2 separate regions of the Homo sapiens genome follow, and region 2 is linked to region 1. The links are contacts of gene promoters, found by promoter capture Hi-C in blood cells and fetal thymus (Javierre and others, 2016). All regions are on one chromosome and are shown on one strand. The core of a region is centred on a gene start or on the middle of the fragment in contact, and the rest is flanking DNA. Distances in the headings are between cores, read along the strand shown.

The links. The method cuts DNA at HindIII sites, captures the fragments that hold promoters and counts their contacts. A CHiCAGO score of 5 or more calls a contact.
Region 2: a contact is called between a fragment that was not itself captured here and the fragment with the promoter of PCTP in region 1, in 1 of 17 cell types (total B cells). The highest score is 5.8, in total B cells.

Annotation. Positions count from the first base shown.
Region 1 is chr17:55,749,603-55,752,302 of GRCh38, reverse strand. It overlaps PCTP (phosphatidylcholine transfer protein), which reads right to left and starts at 1,252. Exons shown (of 6, transcript NM_021213.4): 1 at 1,059-1,252. The coding sequence starts at 1,199. RefSeq lists a silencer at 1,115-1,454. The HindIII fragment of the contact is 1,470 bases long and covers 1,182-2,651 here.
Region 2 is chr17:55,357,980-55,360,679 of GRCh38, reverse strand. No RefSeq gene overlaps it. Among named protein-coding and RNA genes, the nearest start is that of MMD, 63 kb to the left of the region's middle. The HindIII fragment of the contact is 643 bases long and covers 1,014-1,656 here.

The sequences.
Region 1 (2,700 bases), core at 3-2,502:
TTTTCATTCCTGTTTAACAGGTGAGCAACTTCTAAATATTGCAAACGTTTGTTTTCTGTTTTAAAATATAAAAACACTATATTTGATGTAAACAAAAATGCAAGTGCCTAAAAAGGCAACCACATGTTTGACATTCACAAGATCATGAACCCTCCAATCCCACCTCTGCTATTCACTTATCTGGGCCATTTCAGGAGTGACTTCACCCTTGAGGCCTGTTGCTTTCACCTATGAAACCTGGGGTTTAACCAGGTGAGCATGAGGTATCCTCCTAACTCTAACACTATAATATCCTGGTCCTGTATTAGGAAACTTCAGTTTCACCCACATTACCTGCAGGCGACTTTTAACCTACTTGCCATGCTGCGACTATTACACAAAGCAACTGATGACAAGCCTTGGATGACAGGCCTCAGGGGCAATGCCTTCCACCTGGATGGCTACCTGATTCCAAAGACTTCAACAACCAATCCCATTCCTCCTACATCTTTACTCCTGCCTGAAGATTCGGACTCAACTTATTAAGAGCAACTTGGAAGGAAGGGGCAACAACCAAAAGAAACGAGTCACTAAAACAGTAGGGCCCTTCTCGGCAACCCCTGACACCACCCTGCACATCCAGTCCTTGAAAAGTTCTGTTTCTTTTCCTCCTATATCCAAGCCCTAAGATACCGCCCCTCCCCCACCCCAGCCCCCATATGCCACTGACACGCATTGGAGAGTGAGGATCAACGTCCCTTGCAGACGTGTGCACGGGCCTAGGAACCAGCTGACCCACGTTTCAACTGTCATTAACTTCTAACTACATGCCCCGTCGGGCCTGACCTGAGGCTGAACTCCTGTGACCTTCCAACTCCCCTGGATCTGCACGGCAGTCACTTGGAGGCACCGCCCCTGCGCTAGCTCCAGAGCTTGAGACAGGGTCCGGGCGGAGCTCCTTCCTGAGCCGGAGAAGACGCGCCCCTGTCCCTTCCGCGACTGCCGCCCCGCACTCCCTGCGGGGAGGTCGACCCCGGCGCATTCTAGGCCCCGCGGTCCTCCAGCGGGTTGGCCGCTACCTTGTCCAGCAGCCGGTAGATGCTGATGCCCGAGGTCTCCACTAGGAGCTGCCAGTCGGCCCCGGCCAGAGCGGGCTGCTGGAGCTCGGCGCAGGCCTCCCAGAACTGCTCCTCCGAGAAGCTTCCGGCGGCCAGCTCCATCCTTCCGCAGTCCGGGCTCCTCCGCCTGGAGGGCAGGCCGCGGACACCCTTAGTGTGGGCCTGGGGGCGGGGTGACCGGGCTGCCCCGGCTGCCCCGGCTGCCCCAGCGTCATTGGCAGGAAACTGAGGAGAAGGCGGGGCCTAGACTGGAGGAGCGGCCTGAGGGTGGGGCCCTGGAGGGGCGGGCCTAGAAAAGCGGGCGGGGCTGAGCAAGGAGTGAGGAGGATAGACAAGAAGTAAAAGGAGAAAAATTGGACTTGATGTGGGGAAGGAAGGAAGAGCTGGAGAAGTAAGGAGGCTTCCAGAGGGAAGGGAAAAAGGAAGGGAGACAGTGATGTCACCTCAAAAACAGCTCCTCAGTAGCCTATCCCATACTCCCTGCTACTCCCATAACCTACAGACCTGTTTGAGTGTCTCTCATTTACCTTTCTGAATAAAGTAGAGAAAGTCTCTTTGGTAGACATGAGAGGAGAGGTGGGCAGAGTAGAAATGCTGGAAAAATCCTAAGGGGTCAAATGCCAGAAGTGTATTTCAATATAATTTCTCTTCTTTCTGCTATACATTGTAAAACATTATTCTGAGACGAGGTCCATTGGATTCCCCAGAAGACTCTAGGGGTTCATAACACCAAAACAGTTTAGAAACCTAATCCATAATGGATCTACAAGGTTGTTGCCACCCTTGAGGGTAGAAACTGATCTGAAAGGTGTCGTACTATCCACCTAGGATTTCTGCAACTTGCATAATTTAGCTCACTGTGCAACTCAAACATCTTCTTGTTCCTTTGAAGTCCCTTGAGTAATACTGTATTTCCCACCAGCAGACTGTACTACCTGACTTTGAATAAAGTAGGTCGTTTGAACATCAAAACGATGTAACAGCCACGTGAGTGCCAATAAACTCTGGAAACTCATGTTTCCTAATCTGTAAAATGGGTCAAGAATTGTGCTACCAGTTACAGCTGAGGAGGTGGTTGGACAAGGAATAATTTTCCACAGTGCCCGTCCAAGTAAATGTTCAATAACAATTTCCACTTGTTTTGCATTACTATATTGAAATGCTTTTCTTTCCTTACTTGAAAGAAAGTTGATGGCAAAGTCTTAATTTATGTGATTTTCCAATCAGGCAAATGATCACATTTGGCAGCTTGCTTAGTTAGACACAGCAGAGATAAATAATTGCTTTCCTCAAGTCAGTCCTGGTTCTGTTTGGCTTTATAGGTGTGGAAAGAGGGATGTGAAATTTTCCTAGACTAAATGCACAAAAGTTTAGGCTAGACATACTTTCCCACTGTTTTATAACTCCTTGTAAATTTTCTATGTATTGTAAATCCATATTTTATTTAAATGGAAATTCATTGCTTGAAAAACCAATTGTGTAAAAACTATTGGCTATGAAGTATTTTCAAGTATCTTCAAGGAATCCATTATAAAGGTTTGATTTGATAAAGCTTTATTACTATATGGCAATAGACTAATGGAGACAAGCATAAGAACACAAA
Region 2 (2,700 bases), core at 86-2,585, 390 kb after region 1:
TTATGGAGACAATGCCCCAAAGAAATCAGTGGTTTACAAATAAATAAATACAGAAATCAGCAGTTTACAAATGGATAATTCTTTTTAAGAAGGGATAAGACTATGTTGAAGATGAAGCCTGCAGCAGCAGCCCATGAACATCAATTTGTAAAGAAAAAAATTAATATTGTTCATGCCCTAATTAAAGAGGACTGATAATTAACAGCAGGAACAATAGCCAACACCAACACCATAAATACCTCAATTAGTTTATCTTAAAAACTTCTGACTGCAAATTTTAAATTAAGCAAATTTTCTACTTTATGGGTGCCAGAACCATTTCACCCAGGTTAGCTGCAGACAAGAGCAGAGCTTTCAATGGAAATTTTAAATAAGTGGGATCAAGATCCTAAAGCATTTCTTCGAAGAACTGTAAAAGGAGATAAAACATGGCTTTACCAGTATGATCTTGAAGTCAAAGCAGAATTAAAGCAATGGCTACCAAGAGGTGGAAGTGGCAGTCAAAGAAAACATGGGGGTTGGGCGCAGAGCCTCAATCCTGCAATCCCAGCACTTTGGGAGCCCGAGGTGGGCAGATCACCTGAGGTCAGGAGTTCGAGGCCAGCCTGGCCAATGTGGCAAAATCCTGTTTCTACTAAAAATGTAAAAATTAGCCAGGTATGGTGTTGAGCACCTGTAACCCCAGCTACTTGGGAGGTTGAGGCAGGAGAACTGCTTGAATCCGGGAGGCGGAGGTTGCAGTGAGCCAAGATTGCACCACTGCACTCCAGCCTGAGCATCAGAGCAAGACTCCAGCTCAAAAAAAAAAAAAAAAAAGAAAAAAAAGAGAAGAGAAAAGAAAAAGAAAATGTGGGCTAGTTAAGAGCAAAGATAATGGCAAAAGTGTTTTGGGATGCTCAAAGCATTTTGCTTCTTGGCTTTCTGTAAGATCAAAGAACAATAACATCTACCTATTATGAGAGTGTTTTGAGAAAGTTAGCCAAAGCTTTGGCAGAAAAATGCCTAGGAAAGCTTCATCATAGAGTCCTCCTCTGCCACAAAGCTCCTGCTTATTCCTCTCAACAAACAAGTGAAATTTTGTAAGTTTAAATGGGAAATCTTTAAGCATACGCCCTCCAGTTCTGATTTGGCTACTTCTGACTTCTTTTCCCCACCTAATTTTAAACAATCTTTAAAGGACACCCATTTTTATTCAGTTAATAATATAAAAAAGACTGCACTGACATGGTTAAATTCCCAGGACCCTCAGTTCTTTAGGGATGGACTAAACTGCTGGTATCATCACTTACAAAATTGTTTTGACCTTGATGGAATTTATGTTGGGAAATAAAATTTATATTTCTTATTTTTACTGTTTGTTGCTTCCACTTTCCATGAACTTTTTGAAGTCTTCTCATACCTTTATTTTTATGCATGTTTTCTTAGAACTTATTTATAATAACTACTTTGAAGTCTTTGTCTGCTAAGTTCAACATCTGGGCCTTCTCTAAGGCTGTTTCTGTTGCCTGCTTTTATGGGTCATATTTCCCTGTTTCTTTTAATGTCTCACAACTTTTTACTGAAAACTGGACATTTTAGATCACATATCATAGCAATTCTGAATGCTGATTCTCTGGGGCTTGTTGTTTCCTTCGTCATTTGTTTAATAGCTAAGCTTAAGTAGTTCTTCAAAGTCTATTGCAGTGTGCAGCTTCTAATGTCCCTGCTTAGATTTTTTTCCCTTATTCTTATCTTTTTTTTTTTTTTTTTCCTGACAGAGTCTCACTCTTTCTCGCCCAGGCTGGAGTGCAATGGCACGATCTTGGCTCATTGCAACTTCTGCTTCCCATGTTCAAGTGATTCTTCCAGCTCAGCCTCCCGAGTAGCTGGGATTACAGCCACTCGCCATCATGCCCAGCTAATTTTTGTGCTTTTGTAGAGATGGTGTTTCACCATGTTGGCCAGGCTGGTCTCGAACTCCTGACTTCAGGGGATCTGCCGCCCCCGCCCTGCCACTTCGCCTCCCAAAGTGCTGGGATTACAGGCATGAGCCACCAAACCTGGCCCCCTTATTTTTATCTTTTAGCCTGGCTAGATAGGGGTTTTCTCTAGGTCAGCATAAGCCATTTACTAGTCAAAGGTTATGCCTCAGTGTCCTTAGTCTGTTAGGTTTTTTTACCCTTTACTGTCGGAAATGATATGTGTGATGTGGAGGCTCTTATCACAGTTCAGGGAGCTTACTACTTTTCTCCCGTGTTCACCTAGGAACTAGCAGCCTGGTGGTTCTCTCTCTGATTGCTTCTTGGAGGATGCAGCCTTGGGTATGCACATAGTCTTCCAGACTTTCAGGGATGACTATGATTTTATTTTTAAGCTTGGCTGTCTTGGAGTCACTCCTGCGCCAGAATAACATATTGTTCAGTCAGTTGTTAATCAGAAGTTGTGCTTATGCCCTTTTTACCAATAAAATTTCCACCCTATGTTGATGGGCCTGTGGGTGACTTGAGAAATGCTATGAAATCTGCCCCACATCCTGCTCTGATTTTTCCCAAGTGAGTGCAGCCTAGCACAGCCTTTCTGATTGGACTTGACTGTATGCATAGAAGGGCTCTTCTTGGCTGTCTCTTTCCGTGGTCTCCCTATTAAACTTCTGAATACTCTGCTATTTTGTTTGTATACGCACATACCAGCTGCCTCTTCATTGCTCTCCCAACAAGATTA